Regions from separate parts of the Homo sapiens genome. Here regions 1, 2, 3, 5 and 6 are each linked to region 4. The links are contacts of gene promoters, found by promoter capture Hi-C in blood cells and fetal thymus (Javierre and others, 2016). All regions are on one chromosome and are shown on one strand. The core of a region is centred on a gene start or on the middle of the fragment in contact, and the rest is flanking DNA. Distances in the headings are between cores, read along the strand shown. Region 1 has its middle 17 kb from the start of LINC02601. Region 2 has its middle 34 kb from the start of LINC02601. Region 3 overlaps USP9X (ubiquitin specific peptidase 9 X-linked). Region 4 holds the start of CXorf38 (chromosome X open reading frame 38). Region 5 overlaps USP9X (ubiquitin specific peptidase 9 X-linked). Region 6 overlaps DDX3X (DEAD-box helicase 3 X-linked).

Region 1 (3,720 bases), core at 265-2,764, 610 kb after region 4:
ACCTCCGCCTCCTGGATTCAAGCGATTCTCCTGCCTCAGCCTCCCGAGTAGCTGGGACTACAGATATGCGCCACCTCCTATGCCCGGCTAATTTTCGTATTATTAGTAGAGATGGGGTTTCACCATGTTGGCTAGGCTGGTCTCAAACTCCTGACCTCAGGTGATCCACCTGCCTCGGCCTCCCAAAGTGCTGGGATTACAGGCGTGAGCCACCACGCCCAGCCAAAAACTGAATTATCTTTCTATCCTCTCCCTAGAAAATATTATAAAGTTGCGGCCACACGAAAAGGTGATCAAAGAGTATGCAGTCAAAAATTACAGGGGGAAAAAGGGCCATTGAGGTTTGTTAAGCAGTTAACAAAACTTTGTTAGTTTTCTGAATTATATGAAATTTGAGGTATTTCTCAGCTTTGAAAACATTGTGAATTGCGTTTTCTTTCTAATTCTAAATAGGCATCCCTTTCCTACCTAATTTTGCATTCACATTTTGTGGTTTTTAAAACATTTTTATTAAAATTTTTTTTTTCTTTTAAATAAAGACGAAATCTTCCTATGTTGCCCAGGCTGGTCTTGAACTCCTGGGCTCAAGCAATCCTCCTGCCTCGGCCTCCCAAAGTGCTGAGATTACAGGCGTGAACCACTGTGCCTGGCCTGTGTTCTTTTTTTTAAAGGGCTTCCCAAAATTGTATAATCTTTAGGGACCACAAAACCTGGGTCCACCCCCATGCATGCATGCACACACGTGCACATGCATGATCGCACATGTGCATGCACCCCAATGCACACATGTACACATATTCCAGAAAATTCATAGAATCACCAAATTATCACAGATTTATTCAAAGCTTGCTCCAAAGAGAATTATTTTTGCTAATTAAGTTAACTTTACTAATTAAACTATTTTTCCCATTGGTTCCCCCAGTACCTTCTGTTCCTTTAGTGTCACCCCCCAAAAAATTGCAGAGGACCGCTTTGGGCCATTATCGCATAATTCTCTCAGACAGAAGGGGTGGTTTTCCTTCCTCTTTCGTCTGTCGGGTATTTTAAGATTGTCATCATCTGTTATGCGAAAAAAAAATCAAACTTTCATTTTTATGTTAATTTCCATGAGCTAAACGTTCATTTTGTTTTACTGACATTTATAGAAACAGGTTTTTTAGAAGTCTGTTACTCAAAGTTAAGTGGATGCAACCTGAAGAGGGGTACCTCGTCCCCTGAAATCTATGATAACATCCTCCTTGGTAGGGAGGCTCTGGTCCCATGATGGGATTTTTGCTGACCTAGAAGAAGAAATATAAGAGGCATACGGGTACGCCAGATGGTGAAAAATAGGTTTACAGCACCAAAATAGTGTTGTTTCTTCTTTATTAAAAACTAGGCTAGTATTGAATGCCAGAAGGCGCGAAATCCAGCACTGAGGAAGAATCTCCACATTTAGCATTCATCTTGGCACGCATGACAAGGCAGGGGACAGTGGGCGCCCCAGCCTGGTGGGGGGCATTGCTGCAGGCTGGCTTCTGCGGCACACAGGATCTGGGAGGTCCGAGGCTGGGAAGGCCAGCTTGGCCCCCGTTCCCCATCCCCACCACCATCAGACTGGAAGTCCGCAGCTCTGTACACTCTGACTCACCGCATCTCCTTCATACTAGATTCTAATGTCCAAGAACCAGGAAGGCTGGAACCTTGACCTCCAAGAAGTCCTAGCTTCTTCAGTGTCATTGTTGGTAACTGCCATCTTTAAAAGTTTCCCCCAGGCTGGACGCGGTGGCCCACGCCGGTAATCATGAGCCACCGCCAGATTGGGAGGCCGAGGTGGGCGGAACACTTGAGATCAGGAGTTTGAACCCCGTCTCTACTAAAAATACAAAAAATTAGCCGGGCGTGGTGGTGGACGCCTGTAATCCCAGCTACTCGGGAGGCCGAGGCAGGAGAATTGCTTGAACCCGGGAGGCAGAGGTTGCAGTGAGCGGAGATCGAGTCACTGCATTCCAGCCTGGGTGACAGAGCGAGACACCGTCTCGAAAAAATAAAATTTCCCTCAAACCATTAGCAACCAGTCTCCTTCGAGCTCTCCAATTGAGAAACTAGAATTCAAGAGGGTTAGGCTCTTCGCCAGCAAAATCCTTATCACCTGCGTCATCCCTCTCTGAGTCGGGTAGCTTTTGCTGCAAAACCGACCCCCACAAAGCTTAGGGCCTTAAAACACCAACATTTTGTTGTTGTTGTTGTTGAGACAGGGTCTTGCTCTGTCACCCAGGCTGGAGTGCAGTGGCACGATCACAGCTCCCTGAAGCCTTGACCTCCTGGGCTGAATCGATCCTCCCACCTCAGCCTCCTGAGTAGCTGGGACTACAGGCACACACCACCGCGCCCAGCTAATTTTTTAATTTTTTTGTAGAGACAGGGTCTCCCTATGTTGCCCAGGTTGGTCTTGAACTCCTGGGCTCAAGCGGTCCCCCCACCTCGGTCTTCCAAGTAGCTAGGACCACAGACATGGCCAGCTAATTTTTTGATTTTTTGTAGAGATGGGGTCTTACTGTGTTACCCAGGCTGGTCTTGAACTCCTGGGCTCAAGCGATCCTTCTGCCTCCGCCTCTCAAAGTGCTGGGATTATAGGCATGAAGCCAAAACACCAACTGTTGATTTAGCTTTTGCTGCTGCCGGCTGGCAATCTGGGCTGAGCTCAGCTGATACACATGGCTCCCACCTGCATCTGCCAGACTGGCTGCGGATGGGCTGGTCTGGAGTGACCTCAGCTGGTCGGATCGTCGTTCGTCTGCCTGGTCCTGCATCCCCAGCAGGCTAGCCCACGTTTGTTCATAGGGAGGCGGCGGGGTTCCAGGAGAGTGAACAGAAATCGCAGAAATGCTCAAGGTCTCTTGCCATTGAGGCCTGGAGCAGGCACAATGTGAAGTATTCAACCGGTCAAAGCAAGTCCCAAGGCCAGCCCAGGCTCAAGGCCTGCACCTCTTGATTCAAAGAGCTACCCTGCATTGAGAAGGAGTGGGGGCACAGGAAGGGTAATTATTGTAAATAATGCATTGTAAATATTGTATTTTTTCTTTAAAAAGATTTTTTTTTTTTGAGACGAAGTCTTTCTGTCACCAGGCTGGAGTGCAGTGGCACAATCTTGGCTCACTGCAACCTCCGCCTCCTGGCTTCAAGCAATTCTCCTGCCTCAGCCTCCTGAGTAGCTGGGACTACAGGCGCATGCCACCATGCCCAGCTAATTTTTGTATTTTTAGTAGAGATGGGGTTTTACCATGTTGGCCAGGATGGTCTCGATCTCTTGACCTCATGATCTAACCACCTCGGCCTCCCAAAGTGCTGGGATTACAGGTGTGAGCCACCATGCCCGGCCTTAAAAAGATTTTCTTGTGATAAAATATACATAAAATTTGCCATTGTAACCATTTTTATGTATACAGTTCAGTGGCGTTAAGTACATTTTTAATGCCACTGAACTGTATCTAGCACACGATCATGGTTCACTGCAGCTTCAACCTCCTGGACTCAAGCAAATCCTCCCACCTCAGCCTCCCAAGTAGCTGGGACTACAAGCTAACACCACCATTACCGACGAATTTTTGTATTTTTTGTAGAGACAAGGTCTCCCTATGTTGCCCAGGCTGGTCTCGAACTCCTTGGCTCAAGCAATCCTCCCACCTTAGCCTCCCAAAGTGCTGGGATTATAAGCATGAGCCACTGTGCTCAGCTGCG
Region 2 (3,309 bases), core at 62-2,561, 590 kb after region 4:
AAAAATTCAGACTTGCACTAAAATGGTAGCAGGTTTGCCTTACTAATGGCCACTGAAGCTTGGTTTAATAACTTAGTAACGTTAAGTGCTAGATAAACTGGATGTTGGGTTGTTGTTTAGCACTTATCAGCACAGCGTTAGACACTGATATTAGCAGGCCTGGCGCGGTGGCTCACGTCTATAATCCCAACACTTTGGGAGGCCGAGGCGGGTGGATCACCTGAGATCAGGAGTTCTAGACCAGCCTGATCAACATGGTGAAACCGGGTCTCTACTAAAAATACAAAAATAATTAGCCGGGCATGGTGGCGGGCACCTCTAATCCCAGTTACTCTGGAGGCTGAGGCAGGAGAATTGCTTGAACCGGGGAGGCGGAGGTTGCAGTGGGCCGAGATGGCGCCGTTGCACTTCAGCCTGGGCAACAAGAGCAAAGTTCCATCTCAAAAGAAAAAAAAAAAAAGGAAGAAAGTCCATAAACCCCACCCATGTTCAAGGGGAGGGGCATCTCACATTGGCCGGGCACGGTGGCTCACGCCTGTAATCCCAGCACTTTGGGAGGCCGAGGCGGGCGGATTACCTGAGGTCAGGAGTTCGAGACCAGCCTGACTAACATGGAGAAACCCCATCTCTACTAAAAATACAAAATTAGCCGGGTGTGGTGGTGCATGCCTGCAATCCCAGCTACTCGGGAGGCTGAAGCAGGAGAATCGCTTGAACCCGGGAGGCGGAGGTTGCAGTGAGCCATTGCACTCCAGCCTGGGCAATGAGAGCGAAACTCTGTCTCAAAAAAAGAAAAAAAGAAAAAAAAAGAAATGGCTACAGGATGTCCCTCTCATTCTGTGTTTTTGTCTCTAGAAAAGGATGATAAAGTAACCAAGAGTGACACTTATATTATCAGGTGCTTTTGAGGAGTAATAATTTATCAATATGCAATCCACATTTAGGCTTTTAACTGCTGTTCCGCTATGCTGAAGTGCAATGGGCAATACTCATCACAAAAGCAGCTTAGAGCTGTAAACAAAAAAGAGGAATTACTTTTAGGGAAGCTGGTTTAACTGTACAAATTTAAAGTCAAGAATTAACTTAAGATTTAAGGCTAGAACTAAAAGAAAGCATATATAACGTCATACCTGAATCTCCTACTAAATTCTGAAGTTTGGCATTAGGTTGGTTTGAAAACAGTTGTTAAAACGTGGCCTTCTGGCCTGGCGCAGTGGCTCACGCCTGTGATTCCAACACTTTGGGAGGCCGAGGCAGGCGGATCACTGGAAGTCAGGAGATTGTAACCAGCCTGGCCAACATGGTGAAACCCCATCTCTACTAAAAAATACAAAAATTAGCCGGGCATGGTGGCAGGCACCTGTAATCCCAGCTACTTGGGAGGCTGAGGCAGGAGAATCGCTTGAACCCGGGAGGTGGAAGTTGCAATGAGCCAAGATCACGCCATTGCACTCCAGCCTGGGCAACAAGAGCAAAACTCCATCTCAAAAACAAAACAAAACAAAACAAAACAAAAACTTGGCCTTCTAAATTTGACTAGTGAATGGGGGAAAAGTCAAGTAAGGTTTGTTTGTTTTTTTATTCCGAATTTGTTTACAGATGTACCGTAGCTGAAATACAGTGTTACATTTTGTGTCTAGATTAAAAGAAAATACAGTTGCCTAAAATAATATCCCATATTTTAAATTATGCTGTACATCAATTGCAGTAGTTTTTTTCACCCCACAGTAGTTCTTTGCAATGCGTTTAGCGTGAACTCCTGTTGAGGAGCAGCTTTTGTTACAAATTCGATGTGGGATTACAACTTTGAAAACTGAAATACGCCTTTTATTTTTTTGTAGCTCTGATTTGAACCTCATTTGAAAATAAGTACATTGAAGATTTATACTAACACATTTCCAGTGGCTGAGATCAAGTGTTATAACCACTACTTTGAATGAAAAGAAAATGTGCTAATGTGCTGTACAAAACACACGGGTCCCAGGAAGAAAATAAAATAGCAGCCCATATTTTCAAGTGATAGCAGGTTGTACCCTGACTCAGCACCAATCCATCCAAATCCTTTAGCAGCTTTAAAATGTGGATGTCAGCCGGGCGCGGTGGCTCACGCCTGTAATCCCAGCACTTTGGGAGGCTGAGGCGGGTGGATCACCTGAGGTCGGGAGTTCGAGACCAGCCTGACCAACATGGAGAAACCCCGTGTCTACTAAAAATACAAAAAATTAGCCGGGCATGGTGGCGCATTCCTGTAATCCCAGCTACTTGGCAGGCTGAGGCAGGAGAATTGCTTGAACCTGGGAGGCGGAGGTTGCAGTGAGCTGAGATCGCGCCCTCGCTCTCCAGCCTGGGCAACAAGAGCGAAACTCCATCTCAAAAAAAAAAAAAAAAAAAATGTGGATGTCGCAGGCCCCAGTGGTGACTTCGGTACAGCACCAAACAAGAAGTGGGCGTGTGAGCTCTGTGTTCTGGCCCAGAGGGGCAATGCCTAGTTCTAAGAAAGCAGTCTGTGTACGGTTCTTCTCAAGTCTGGTCTCCACTCCAAATGTTTTCCTCCATTAGAAAATAAAAGCTTGTTTATTCATATGAAACCCTACCGTGGTGACTTTGATTAAAAATGCATCTCCTTTATAACTTTCGCAAATGGGCTGAATTTAGACTGTGCCTACTTGTAGCCACTTGTCAAGTCTCCAAGACAGGAATTTTTCTCATCTGCATTTCAAAAACTCTTGTCTTTGTTACAATAAACTTTCTCTTCATCAGAAGTTAATTTTAGGCCGGGTGTGGTGGCTCAGGCCTGGAATCTCAGTACTTTGGAAGGCCAAGGTGGGCGGGTCACCTGAGGTCAAGAGTTCGAGACCAGCCTGGCCAACATGGTAAAACTCTGTCTCTACTAAAAATACAAAAATTAGCCAGGCGTGGTGGCATGCACTTGTAATCCCAGCTACTTAAGAGGCCGAGGCAGGAGAATCACTTGAACCCGGAAGGCAGAGGCTGCAGTGAGCTAAGATCATGCCACTGCACTCCAGCCTGGGTGACAGAGACTCCGTCTCAAAAAAAAAAAAAAAAAAACTTAATTGTGCTGTCATAATCACTCAGGAATAATAATGCTGCAAAGATGTTATGGGACTGAAGAAACAATGTAAAGAAAGGAGGTGGCCGGGCGCGGTGGCTCACGCCTGTAATCCCAGCACTTTGGGAGGCTGAGGCGGGCAGATCACAAGGTCAGGAGATCTAGACCATCCTTGCTAACACGGTGAAACTCCGTCTCTACTAAAAATACAAAAAATTAGCCGAGCGTGGTGGCGGGCA
Region 3 (3,249 bases), core at 549-3,048, 530 kb after region 4:
AACCTGCCAAGGTCCATGAAAGTCTAGTTTAGGATTGTATCTCACAAGATGAGCCCTTGATGCAAGTATTCACTTTAAATTTTCCTTTAAAAAGAAACAGGCTTCTGCTTACACATCTACCCAGCTGAGGGGGCTTTTTGCTTTGCTCATTTTAATTTTTTTGTTGAAGATTAACAGTTCTGTTGTTCTGGCTACTGTTGCCTGGAAGAAATCACACATGAACAAACTCACCTTCTGCATTATACTGACATCATTATATTTGCCAATTGATTGTGAGCTAATTGGGGTTATAGAAACGTGCTATAGCATAACAGACTGTAATTATTTCTCTCTAGGCTATTACTGATGGATATTATGTTTTCTTCTTTTTCCAGCATCATCTTTTACTGTCCTTGAGTTTTTTAACTAGCTTTTTATATTAAAATAATTTCAAACTGTTTACAAAGAATACAGTTGGCTCCCAAATTCAGTAATTAACAGTTTGCCGTAGTGATGGCAAAAGTTTCCTAACATTTGGAGAACAAGTTGTAGACAATCATCTTTTTCTTCCTAAATAGCTTAGTATATGTCTTCTAAAAACAAGAATGTTCTCACTTACATTAACATAGTATTATTCAAAATAAAAAAAATTTAGCATATACAGTAATATCATCTAATCTGCAGACCATTTTCATATTTTGACACTTTCCTCAGTATTGGACTTTATAACAATGTTTTCTGGTTGAGGATCTAAATCCAGGTTCATACATTGCATAATTATTCGGTATCTCTTTCAGTTGTCTTTAATCTGGAATAGTTCCTCAGTCTTTGTCTTTTGTGACTTTGTTTTTGAATGGCACATGTCAGTTGCGCTGAATATCTCTCATTGGGTCTTATCTGTTCTGATGATTATATGGAGGTTGTACATTTGACAGAGTACTACTTGTATGTTGATGTGTCTAAGAGCATCACATTGAGAGACACATGTCACTGTGTCTTTGGTGACATTAACCCAGATCACTTAGTTGATAGCTGCCAGGTTTCTCCTCTAAAGGAGAGAGATGCTTTGTGTAGAGAGATGCTTTGAGACTTCGTAACTATCTTTTTCCTCATCAAACATTTGTTTTATCATCTATTGTGATTGTTGCCTAAATGTTTTTACTATGATGGTTGCAAAATGGTAATTTTGTTTTAATTTTGTCATCCTTTCTACATTTATTAGTTGACATTCTATAAGGTAGTGCTTTGTTTTCTCGCCTTTATATTTGTCATATATGATCACTCTTATGGGTTTATTTTATTCATTGGGTTATAACCATTGTAATGGTTATTTATTTTGATGCTCAATTGTCCTAGATATGGTCAGTGGAAGCCCCTATAGGTTAGACCCAGACATACAACCTCAATTTTTTTAAGGTACTTTATTGTACTTTATTATTTTCTGGTATGAGAAGATGTTTCAAGCTTATCTATAGTATTTCCTCTGCCCCAGCTCTGGAATCTGCCATTCCAGAGTTTTTAGAAGGAAGGGTATTTAGAAATCAAAATCCGAGGTTTAAATCTTTTTTTTTTTTTTTTTTTTTTTTTTTTTTGAGACGGAGATTTTGCTCTGTTGCCCATGCTGGAGTAGTGCAGTGGCGTGATTTCGGCTCACTGCACCCTCTGCCTCCTGGGTTCAGGTGATTCTCCTGCCTCAGCCTCCCGAATAGCTGTGATTACAGGCACCTGCCCTCATGCCCGGCTAATTATTATATTTTTAGTAGAGACGAGGTTTCACCATGTTGGCCAGGCTGGTCTCGAACGCTTGACCTCAGGTGATCCACCCACCTCGGCCTACCAAAGTGCTAGGATTACAGGTGTGAACCACAGTGCCCCTGCCAAGTCATCCTTATTTCATTCTAATTGTGGTAAGGTGATACCTCATTGTGGTTTGGATTTGCATTTCCTTAATGATTAGTTATGTTGAGTGTGCTTTCATGTACATGTTGGCCATTTGGATGTCTTCTTTTGAGAAATATCTATTCAAGTCTTTTGCCCATTTTAAAAATCGGATTTTTTGCTGTTGAGTTCCTTATATATTCTGGATATTAACCCCTTGTCAGATGCATAGTTTGCAAATATTTTCTCCAATTCTGTAGATTTGTCTTTTTGTGGTCTTATTTCCTTTGTTGGGTAGAAGCTTTTTAGTTTAATGTAATTTCGTTTGTCTGTTTTTGTGTTTGTTGCCTGTGCTTTTGAAGTCTTAGCCAAAAAGTCCTTGCCCACACTAATGACATGAAACATTTCCCTTGTGTTTTCTTCTAGTAGTTTTATAGTTTCTGGTCTTACATTTAAGTTTTTAACCCATCTTGAGTTTATTTTTACATATGATGAATAATAGGGGTTTAGTTTCATTTTTCTGCATATGTATATTCTGTTTTTGCAACACCATTTTTATTCAAGAGATTGCCTTTTCCCCCAATGTGTGTTCTTGGCACCTTTGTTGAAAATCAGTTGTTTCTGATTATGTGGATTTATTTCTGGGTTCTCTATTCTGTTCAATTGATCTGTGTCTATTTTTGTGTCAATACCATGCTGTTTTGGTTACTATTGCTCTATAGTAAATTTTGAAGTCAAGTAGCTGATGCCTTCAGCTTTGTTCTTCTTACTCAAGATTGATTCGGCTATTTGGAGTCTTTTGTAGTTCCATATGAATTTTAGGAGTGTTTTTTGTATTTTTTTGTTTTACCTTGCAGATTCACCTCAAAGGATGTTTTTTCTATTTCTGTGAAGAATATAATTGGTATTTTAATAGAGATTGCATCAATCTGTAGATTGCTTTGGGTAATATGGACATTTTAACAATATTTGTTCTTCCAACCCATGAACATAGAATATTTTTCCATTTATTTGTGTCCTGTGTTCGTTCTTTCATCAGTTTTTTTTGTAGTGATCTTTCTCCTCCTTGCTTAAATTTATTCCTAGGCATCTTATATTTTTGTAGCTATTGTGAGATAACTTTCTTGATTTCTCTTTCAGATAGTTTGCTATTGGCAAATGGAAACACTACTTAGTTTTGTATATTGATTTTTGTATCCTGCAGTTAACTAACACAGGTTCACGCTTGTACCAGTCCAGCTTCCTAGTCATCTTCCATTCCGTATTTGTATCTCTACAGCAATGAGAAATCTGAAACCTGAGGGAGTTGGAAAGGCTTCTTAATCAGTCTTCAGCCTCTGTCTTTAGGCCTTCGAATCATTTGTGCCTTCCCAAGTGTTTGTTGTTTTCATA
Region 4 (3,239 bases), core at 22-2,521:
CACACCACGGCAGCTGATCCAGGACTCAGATCATCTGCTTCCCAGGCACTGCTCCTTTCCAGTGCCCACCCTGTGCCTGCTGATAACTACTGGCATGTAGACTGACTGCTAAAGTCAATTTGTGTTAGGAAGCCACTTCTGGCTGTCCCTCTCCGTCCCTTACTGGGCAAAAAAATTTCCTACTCGATCTACTTAGTAAGTGACATTGCCAAGATCTGAAGACAGATCCGGCTGCCTACCCCATTCCCAGCTACCCAAAGTGCCTTTAACTGGGCACTTAAGGTGCTATTTTAGCCCTAACTTCCCTTGGCTTACTCTGTCATCCTTACGGCATCCTATAGCCAAAAAAGAGCTGATGAGCTGTTCAGCGAGCCTTACCCTCAAACAGGCCACACAAGAGTCTCCCTCCCTCCCTGCCTGTGCTCATGATGCTCGCTCTGCATCTTGCCCCAGTATCTCTTGTAGAACTCTTTCCTGTAACTTTCCAAGCAGGGGTAACAAACTCAAATGCCCTCAGGAAGCAGACGGGTAGAAGAAAGCTTCTACTTCACTAAGCTGGGTTGGGTCCCGCATACCACCCCTGAACCGCCTAGACCCTTGATCAATCTCTCTCTCTGCATCTGTTTATGAGGCCCCGGCGACCACAAGACCAGATAGCCACCCCGAGTGCTGGGTGACCCGCCGCTTCCTCCTTCCGTCCCCGCCTCAGGCGCTTACCTTGGCCACCTCCCAGGCGTCCACGGGCCAGCGGCCCGGCCGGCAGTTTCCCCAGTGCACATCTCCATTTCTGTTGACATGATGTCTCAAAATCTCCCTTTTCCATTCAGCGCACACCTGACACTGAGGCTGAAACTACAGGGGGCGGCGGTGAGGAGGGGCCCAGGAGGGAGGGACGTCGCGGTGGGCCCCGCATCGCGGAGGGAACAGGACACTTGCGCTCTGGGTCTGGGACAGGAACGGGGATGAGGAGGGGTGGGGTGGGGGCGGTGGTCAAGGCCCCGAGCCAGGTGCTCACCTGGCGGGCGCGAGGGCTGCACCGTGAGCCGCCGCGGCAGACGGCGCGGGGCCCCAGGCCGGGGGCTGCGGCGAGTAGGCCGCGGTGGAAGGAGAGCACCTCGCGGCCGACGAAACCCTGCAGGCAGCTGCGCAGCAGTAACAGGCAGTGGCCCGCCTTCACCCAGTTCTTGTACTCGGCGCAGTTGAGGCGCGCCGCTAGCTCCGACAGCACCATGTCTCCCACTTGGAACCAGGAGGTTGCGGGGCGTGGCGGACGGCAGTGCGCAGGCGCGGAGCCTGGGAAGTACCCGAGGCAGCGGCGCCTGCGCCGGCGGCAGCGACGCCTGCGCCTGCGCGGCGCGGTGCCACCGATCCCGGGGCGGGGCATCTTGACTTCCGGGGCACGTCGGCTCCACCCCACTTGGGTGACGTCTGACGTCTGACGTCTAACAACTTTGGTGCTTGGGGAAGCAGTTAACTATTTGAAACCCTTAGGCCCTCTTCGTCCCCCAAACAGAGACCCTGTCAGCATCCGATTCGACTCCCTCTCCTAATGTAGGGCACTTCTGTTTTAACTTTTTTTTATTGTCCAGATGTACAAGGTGCTCAGGGCACATTGCTTGAATCGTGTATGTTCTTTGCATTATACAATTCTAGAGTTACTGGTTCCTAAGCCCACAGACCAGCTGTAGCAAATTGAGGTATTAGTGAAACGTGACCGCTGGCTGCCTGCGGTGTGCCAAGCTAACCCAAAACTCAAAATCCCCCGCCACTGGACCACCCAGAAGGGGGCGTTTGCCTGTTTAGGGCAACACATCACTTGGATTCTAGAAGGCTGCACACCTGAGCCAGATAAGGGCATCCTGAAGCACCTAGCAAAGGTTAGACGATAATTATCTAGTATTCTTGATTATATGATAATTAGTGCTCCTTGCACATGGAAGTCTGATTTAAGTTCCAAAGAAGTGCCACAAAGGTCAGAAGGCACTGGGATTGTCAACTCCAAGTGACAAGTCAGGTCAGTTTTAGTTGTTTTTAATGAGCTTTCTGAGCTTGGAAAACATGTCAAAATTGTGTGTAGTTAAAAGCCTCTGAGGAAAGAGTCTAAACATTAAACCTTCCCGACTGTGGTTCACAGCAAAAATGTCCAGTGTTTAGGAGCACTAGCTCAGACTCAAACTGCCCCTTCTTAGCAGTTTGATCTTAAGCAACCTTAATTTGATCTCAGGCAAATTACATTTCTCTGGGCCTCCATTTACTCATTTTTAAGAAGAGGATATCAATAACCTACCACATTGGGTTGTTGTGAGGATTAAATACACATTGAAATATTAAGAAAATGCCTAGCACACAGTAAGCTCTCAGTAAATACTTGCTATTATTTTATATTGACCTAAATATGCCCTTTCATCAATCAGTTATATTCTTGGGCAAGGTATTTTAACAAATCACTGGCCACTTGGAAGTGGAGGCAACTTGCAGAAAATTGTGAGCATACCATGGAGTTCCTGGAGTTGTGCAGCACAGTGCTGGCTGGCCTCTGCTAACTTTGTCTTAATAACCTCAATGCTAAATCCATCCTAAGTAAATTTAAATCACATCCTTAGACACACTGTCCATTCTCAAACCGAATGAAAAAAAAATTCCACAAGAAACAATGAAATACACATTAACATTTTCCCTCTATGTCCCTTGAATGTAAGTTCTCTTAAAATTTTCTGTATACTGATTTTATATCAAGAACACTTGGATGATAAATAAACATTAAGGTAAAATGTAATAGGCACTTCTTTTGGGGGGAAAAACTATGAAAGGAACAACTTTTTATATTGAAATTGCATCAGAATCCAGGGTAGCAAAGTTATAACTTCTTGAAGTTATCAAATTAACCACAGTCCAAAGAATGGCTGTTAGTATCCTTTGGCTGAACAGATTACTGTGTTAATTAGAACACAGTTATTAGTGGTTCTTAAATTCAAAGTCATATAAATTTTAGTTTATGCTTGCACTTAACTCACTCAGTTAATTTTCAAACATAAGGTTCGACTCCTGTTATTAGCGACTTGACACGTTCTGCTGAAGCTCTCACTTTTCTTCTAATTCTGAAAGTACTTTTATACATTCTGAAATGGCATTTCAGCAGATGGAAAAATGAAGGTGGCAAATCAGGACCAATTTCTTATTTCAAGGTTAAATTAATACTAAACCAGACTATTAATGAAAACATCTTCATCAAAATTAAC
Region 5 (3,672 bases), core at 696-3,195, 570 kb after region 4:
AACAGAATGAGACCCTGTCTCCAAAAAGCAAACAAACCAAAAAGTCATATATCCAAAATGAAGTTCTATATCCAGGCGTACCTGTCGTTTCAGGTTTTTTTTCTGTGATCTTACTTAATCACCATTGGATCCATGGCCCTTTTAACATAAGGGAGATTGTACTTTTCATTTGTCTATTTAGTTTGTCTTCTTTTCCCTTGTCTTTTCCGTAATTGCAGATATTTGGGTATTTGTAGATGAGAAAGAGAATATTTATTACACAGACAAGCATAAGTGGAATCTGTATTTCAAACTTAAAAATGCCAAATTTAGACATTCAGAAGAATCCTATTCTGTTCAACTCTTTTAGATATTGCCTGTTCACAAAGCACACATCATTGTTCCATAATGTAACCTACTTGTAAAATTTTCCTGCTGAAAACAAATACTGTAGGGCCTGTAAACCTTAATATGAAGTCCTTAAGATCAGATATGCATTGGGATTGAGAATTGTTTGGATTTAAGAAAAGCAAGGCAGTGCATATACCAACATCTCTATAGCAGGGTCTGAGACAACAACTTACAATTGAACACATTAATATTTCTACAGTAAAATATGAATATTTATACTGAAGGGAGAAATAAAGACTATAAGTAGCCTTTAGTCAGTTTGGGCTAGGTTATCCCACCAACCACATTTTGACAGCAACTTAATGAAAAACTTTGTTGGGCTGGGCGAGGTGGCTCATGCCTGTAATCCCAGCACTTTGGGAGGCCGAGGCAGGCGGATCACCTGAGGTATGGAGTTCAAGACCAGCCTGGCAAACATGGCGAAACCCCATCTCTACTTAAAAATACAAAAATTAGCAGGGCGTGGTGGCGGGCATCTGTAGTCCCAGCTATTCGGGAGGCTGAGGCTTGAATCTGGGAGGCAGAGGTTGCAATGAGCCAAGATCGCGCCACTGCACTCCAGCCTGGGCAACAGGGCAAGACTCCGTCTCAAAAAAAAAAAAAAAACTTGTTATAATAATAGCTTTTGGGCCAGGCGCGGTGGCTCACGTCTGTAATCCCAGCACTTTGGGAGGCCGAGGCAGGCAGATCACAAGGTCAGGAGTTCAAGACCAGCCTGACCAACATGGTGAAACCCCGTCTCTACTAAATATACAAAAATTAGCCGGGCGTGGTGGCACATGCGTGTAATCCCAGCTACTCAGGAGGCTGAGGCAGAAGAATCGCTTGAACCCAGAAGGCGGAGGTTGCAGTGAGCTGAGATCACACCACTGCACTCCAGCCTGGGAGACAAAGCGAGACTCCATCTTAAAAAAAATTAAAAATTAAAATAGCTTTTGGAATCTTAGGATTTCAGATAAGAGGTTGTGGACCTGTTTTTATTATGTTTTTGGGAATATGGCAATAAATAAGATTGTCTAATGGGATATAGAAGCAAATAATGTAGTTGCCATAAAATATGTTAATAGCTATAATAGGGAAAATGCAAAGTGCATCACGGGGGGCATGGTACCTGAAGGGATTTGGGGAGTGCAGAAGACTTAATGGGGAATGTAACGTGGGAATTGGTTAGTTGAGCTTTCCATCTAGAGTGTGAACAGCAGATGCAAAGACTTGATAAACTTGGCGTGGCTTATTGGATGGGATGAAAATTGTCCAGTCTGACTAGAATTGATGTAAGATGGGAATGGCAGGAGTTTCTGATCATGCAGTTCTAATAGGCCTTGTGAGAGAGACTGAGGCATTGGATGAGCCATTGTAGGGTTTTGAACAGATAATACCATCTAGAAAGAGCACTGTGGCCACAGTGTGGAATGTATTGCAGTGGAGTAAGATCCCAGAGAGTGTTAAAATGATCTATAGACATAAGATCATTGTGACCTGTACTGGAGAACTGGCAGTGAGGGAGATACAAGTGGACAGATAGATATATGGTGCTTTTTATAAGAAGTGGAATCAGTGGATTTGGTGATGGGATATTCAGAGAAGGAGGGGACAGGGAAGAGATGTGAAGAATGATGCCCAAAATTCTAACATGAACAACTGTGAGTGGATAGTGGTACCATTTACTGAGGGGAAACACAGGAGGAGAAACATGTATGTATGGGAAGAAAGGGGTGAGTTCAGTTTGGGTAGATTGAGTTTGAGCCTGTGTGACACCCAAATGGAGATATACAGTAGAACAGTAAGTAATTTGTCTTGAAATGTTTTTGAATCATCTGAATGAAGATATCTAGAACATTAAAGCCGTGAGCGTGGGCTAGATCATCCAGGGAAATCAGTGTGAGAAGATAGCCTGGCATGGGAACTTGGAGAAACATCAGTTTTTAAGAGACAAGGAGGAGTCGCAAATAAGAACAAAAAGAGGTAGAAAGAAAATCAGGAATCCAGGGAGGAAGAAGTGGTTATGGTTTGAGAACTGCTCCTTAGCTTATTACTGTGAAGAGGGGCCAAAACCAAATTGGCATGAGTTGAGGAATAGAAAATGAGAAAGTAGAGAGACCAAATGTAGGTATCTTTTTCAAGAAGTTTGGCTGTAGAGGAAAGAAGAGAGGCAGGCAATTTATAAAAGAGTTTTTGCTTCTCATTTAATGTAGTTATTTTGTTGTTTTCATCCTCCTTACAAATGAGGGTTGCAGTGTTGGTTAGTCCCTTTAGACTCTCCAGGCTGTAGAAAGTGTTCGTCTTCTGGTCGGGCGTGGTGGCTCATAATCCCAGCACTGTGGAAGGCCAAGGCGGGCAGATCATGAGGTCAAGATATCGAGACCACCCAGGCCAACATGGTGAAACCCCGTCTCTACTAAAAATACAAAAATTAGCTGGGCATGGTACGTGCCTGTAGTCCAGCTACTGGGGAGGCTCAGGCAGGAGAATTGCTTGAACCCGGGAGGCAGAGGTTGCAGTGAGCTGAGATCATGCTACTGCACTCCATCCTGGCGAGAGAGCGAGACTGTCTCAAAAAAGAAAGAAAGTGTTCATCTTCCTTACAGTGAGCCGGTGTGATTGGAATGTCATAGTCATAGTCACTGTTGAACAATGTTAATACTTATACTCAATGGGTGAGTTTTCTTTTCTAGTAAAATAATTCTCTGAATGCTAAGTAAAAGTGATAAAATTACAAATCAAAATTTTTCTGATCATAAAAATTATAGACAAGATATTTTGTATAACTACTTGTTTTATTCATGAAGCCCTTGCCATCTTAATTTTTTCCTCATATTTTTCTCCCTCTCTTTCTTCTCCCCTTCACTCCTTTTTGTTGTAGGTGTGGCAGAGAAGACACAGCTTCTGAAATTGAGTGTACCTGCTACTTTTATGCTTGTGTCTTTAGATGAAGGTCCAGGTCCTCCAATCAAATACCAGTATGCTGAATTAGGCAAATTATACTCAGTAGTGTCACAGCTGATCCGCTGTTGCAATGTCTCTTCAAGAATGCAGTCTTCAATCAATGGTAAATTTGAATGCTCCATTCTTTACACTAGTTTTGTTTGTTTGTTTGTTTTGAGACAGAGTTTTGCTGTTGTTGCCCAGGCTGGAGTGCAATGGCGTGATCTCGGCTCACTGTAACCTCCGCCTCCCTGGTTTAAGCCATTCTCCTGCCTCAGCCTCCCAAGTAGCTGGGATTACAGGTGCCCACCACCACGCCCGGCTAATTTTGTATTTTTAGCAGAGACGGGGTTTCGC
Region 6 (2,500 bases), core at 1-2,500, 690 kb after region 4:
GTACTTAGTGATCAATCTAAAGCATCGTTGCCTTTTTTTTTTTTTTTTGGTTGAGATGGAGCTTTGCTCTTGTTGCCCAGGTTGGAGTGCAATGGTGTGATCTCGGCTCACCGCAGTCTCTGCCTCCGGGTTCAAGCGATTCTCCTGCCTCAGCCTCCCGAATAGCTGTGCCTTTCTGATAATAAAACATCAATGACTAGCTGGCTCTCTTGAGTAAAAGCAGCTAATCATTGGAAAGAACCTTATTATATCAAATTATCTCTAGAAGAGTTTTTGTCCATTATAAATCCTGAGCCCAGTTTAGAGGTGATGGGAATGTGTCCCTGTTAACTGACTATATTTATTAAATTGAATTAAGGGAATATGCATTTCATTGGTTATAGCTACTCCTTTCTCCTGAAGAACAGAAGACTATACTGAATTTTGGATTGGTGGTTAGGTTAGGTTTTCAAATGTGTCATTTCTTTTAAAAAGGCATTAGAAAAGTTGCTTTTTTTCTTCTAAGGGGGGTTATTTAGAGACTTGTTAGAGGTTAGTGTTAAGATAGGGGATCTTGGTGGTTTATTATAAGGGCAATAGACCCTTATTTTTAGCTCAGATCTCTTCCTACTTATTAAAACAAAAGTGAGTATGGGCTATGATGTGTCCTCATTTTTAGGCAAGAACAGCTTCACTGGGAACAAAACTTGGTGTTTGCTTTAACTTTCACCTTATTTGTCATGCTAAGAATCTTTTAGGAACTGATTGTCCTAGTAGAGATTTTTAAAAATATTTAATTCAGTCTAGAAGTGAAAAAGAAAAATGACACGTTTACTAGTTATAAAGCAAATTTATTTGGCTTTATGTTGTTTTTTTTGCTTATCCATATTCTAGGCTGTACTCCTGCTCGCATACAGAGCAACTGTCAACTTTCCTTAAACTCAGCAAGCCCCAAATTAAAACCTGCAATTCCTTGAAATTAACTCCCCTTTGCAGCTTTTCCTTGTTTATTTATTGTATGTTTTGCAACTTACTGGCATAGAAACAAAAGATTGTGAGATATGTTACATGAGTAATCTTAAATTGTTACAGTAATACTTAATGCTTTTGTTGACAGTTTTGATGACAGTTCTCTTAAATCTAGCAGGCCTTTAAAAAAATCACATTAAATGACCACTGGTGGCTAAATGTGCTCAATTTGTGGATTTCAACTATTAGGTTCCAAATCAGCTTTTTTTTATCAAACTCCTTTCAGAGTTCTCCTTATGAAGCAGTAACCCATTTAAAATTAGATTCTTATTTTTCCCCCCTCTCAGTGTCCAGGTAAGTAATCAGATTGGAAGGCTGGAGATTTTAATTTCCCAGAACCATTTTTTAGTAACAGAAATTTAAATGGGAAGGTTTTTTGGCATTTAATTAATTTTATATATATATATATTTTTTTAGAAGGGCGCTATATTCCTCCTCATTTAAGGAACCGAGAAGCTACTAAAGGTAGGTCCTCACAAGTAACTTCGTAGGTCTATTTTTTGCCTCCTTTAGAAGTTAGTAAAGCCTAAGGAAAACCAGGCATTTGGGGGAGGTCTAAACATGGTGTTGTTTTTCTATGCTTCTGTCAGCCTTGGTTCAAATACTAGAGCTTAATAATTTTGGAAGAACTCATCTAATGTTACGCAGTGGGAAATTCGGCATTCCTATGTCAAACTGTTCTGACGCCAAGGGCATGGTTTTGTACAGTTTCACTAGTGTTGTGCTGAATCTGTTTGTAATCATTCACAGCATGGTTTTAGTTTGGAAGAGGTGGGTGCCCTACTGTGTAAACCAAGCTGTATAATGATAACAACCTGGTTATTTCTGTCTTGGCAAAGTTGCTAGAAATGAAGATGGGCTTATTGTAGAACAGTTAACAAGTTACAGCGTTGGAAGTGATTCTCTGGTTTCATCTCCTTGCCTTGCTGCTTTTGAAAGGTTTTGTCCAAAATGTATTACAATATCTGGTGTCTTTTCCCATTGTAATTGTAACGTAGTGATAGATGACAGCTAGTATATGTTTCATATTATGAGACAGCTGTTCGGGTGCTTTATATTCTGTAAAATAGACCATCCAAAATTTGGAGGAAAAGGGAAAGTCAGGAAAACCAAAGATTAGGAGGGAAGATACTGTATAAAGAAGGCAGATAGGAAGAGTGGAGAGTCCACAGGGGAGCACATGGTTTGCTGCTGTTCCTCCATCTCCATATGTAGTCTGTATTACCTTCACTGTCCTGGCAATGCATGGATATAAAATCTGTATTATTTCTACCAGAAGATCACTTTGGCTTTTTTTTTTTTTTTTTTTTTTTGAGACGGAGCCTTGCTCTGCTGCGGAGGCTGGAGTGCAGTAGCGCGGGCTCACTGCAACCTCCGCCTCCTGGGTTCAAGTGATTCTCCTGCCTCAGCCTCCCAAGTAGCTGGGATCACAGGCATGTGCCACCATGCCCGGCTAATTTTTGTATATTTAGTAGAGACGGGGTTTTGCCTT

What was found. Contacts are between HindIII fragments. The CHiCAGO score rates a contact against its expected background, and 5 or more counts as called.
Region 1: a contact is called between a fragment that was not itself captured here and the fragment with the promoter of CXorf38 in region 4, in 7 of 17 cell types (endothelial precursors, megakaryocytes, monocytes and 4 more). The highest score is 6.7, in endothelial precursors.
Region 2: a fragment that was not itself captured here is called in contact with the fragment with the promoter of CXorf38 in region 4 in 3 of 17 cell types (monocytes, neutrophils and megakaryocytes); the score reaches 10.7 in monocytes.
Region 3: a fragment that was not itself captured here is called in contact with the fragment with the promoter of CXorf38 in region 4 in 13 of 17 cell types (naive B cells, total CD8 T cells, naive CD4 T cells and 10 more); the score reaches 10.7 in naive B cells.
Region 5: a contact is called between a fragment that was not itself captured here and the fragment with the promoter of CXorf38 in region 4, in 4 of 17 cell types (monocytes, total CD4 T cells, naive CD4 T cells and 1 more). The highest score is 7.4, in monocytes.
Region 6: a fragment that was not itself captured here is called in contact with the fragment with the promoter of CXorf38 in region 4 in 10 of 17 cell types (fetal thymus, total CD8 T cells, total CD4 T cells and 7 more); the score reaches 11.6 in fetal thymus.

Annotation. Positions count from the first base shown.
Region 1 is chrX:41,256,969-41,260,688 of GRCh38, forward strand. No RefSeq gene overlaps it. Among named protein-coding and RNA genes, the nearest start is that of LINC02601, 17 kb to the right of the region's middle. The HindIII fragment of the contact is 1,343 bases long and covers 844-2,186 here.
Region 2 is chrX:41,239,708-41,243,016 of GRCh38, forward strand. No RefSeq gene overlaps it. Among named protein-coding and RNA genes, the nearest start is that of LINC02601, 34 kb to the right of the region's middle. The HindIII fragment of the contact is 2,511 bases long and covers 57-2,567 here.
Region 3 is chrX:41,176,544-41,179,792 of GRCh38, forward strand. All of the region lies in intron 21 of USP9X (ubiquitin specific peptidase 9 X-linked), which reads left to right. Among named protein-coding and RNA genes, the nearest start is that of USP9X, 93 kb to the left of the region's middle. The HindIII fragment of the contact is 715 bases long and covers 1,442-2,156 here.
Region 4 is chrX:40,646,290-40,649,528 of GRCh38, forward strand. CXorf38 (chromosome X open reading frame 38) reads right to left here and starts at 1,272. Exons shown (of 7, transcript NM_144970.3): 1 at 1,016-1,272; 2 at 718-852. The coding sequence starts at 1,231. It overlaps MED14 (mediator complex subunit 14), which reads right to left. Exons shown (of 31, transcript NM_004229.4): 31 at 2,016-3,239. RefSeq lists an enhancer at 453-652 and silencers at 903-1,052, 1,173-1,472, 1,308-1,488. The HindIII fragment of the contact is 2,915 bases long and covers 538-3,239 here.
Region 5 is chrX:41,219,964-41,223,635 of GRCh38, forward strand. It overlaps USP9X (ubiquitin specific peptidase 9 X-linked), which reads left to right. Exons shown (of 45, transcript NM_001039591.3): 39 at 3,254-3,439. Among named protein-coding and RNA genes, the nearest start is that of LINC02601, 54 kb to the right of the region's middle. The HindIII fragment of the contact is 5,585 bases long and covers 1-3,672 here.
Region 6 is chrX:41,337,611-41,340,110 of GRCh38, forward strand. DDX3X (DEAD-box helicase 3 X-linked) reads left to right here. Exons shown (of 17, transcript NM_001356.5): 3 at 1,426-1,473. Among named protein-coding and RNA genes, the nearest start is that of DDX3X, 4.7 kb to the left of the region's middle. The HindIII fragment of the contact is 3,587 bases long and covers 1-2,500 here.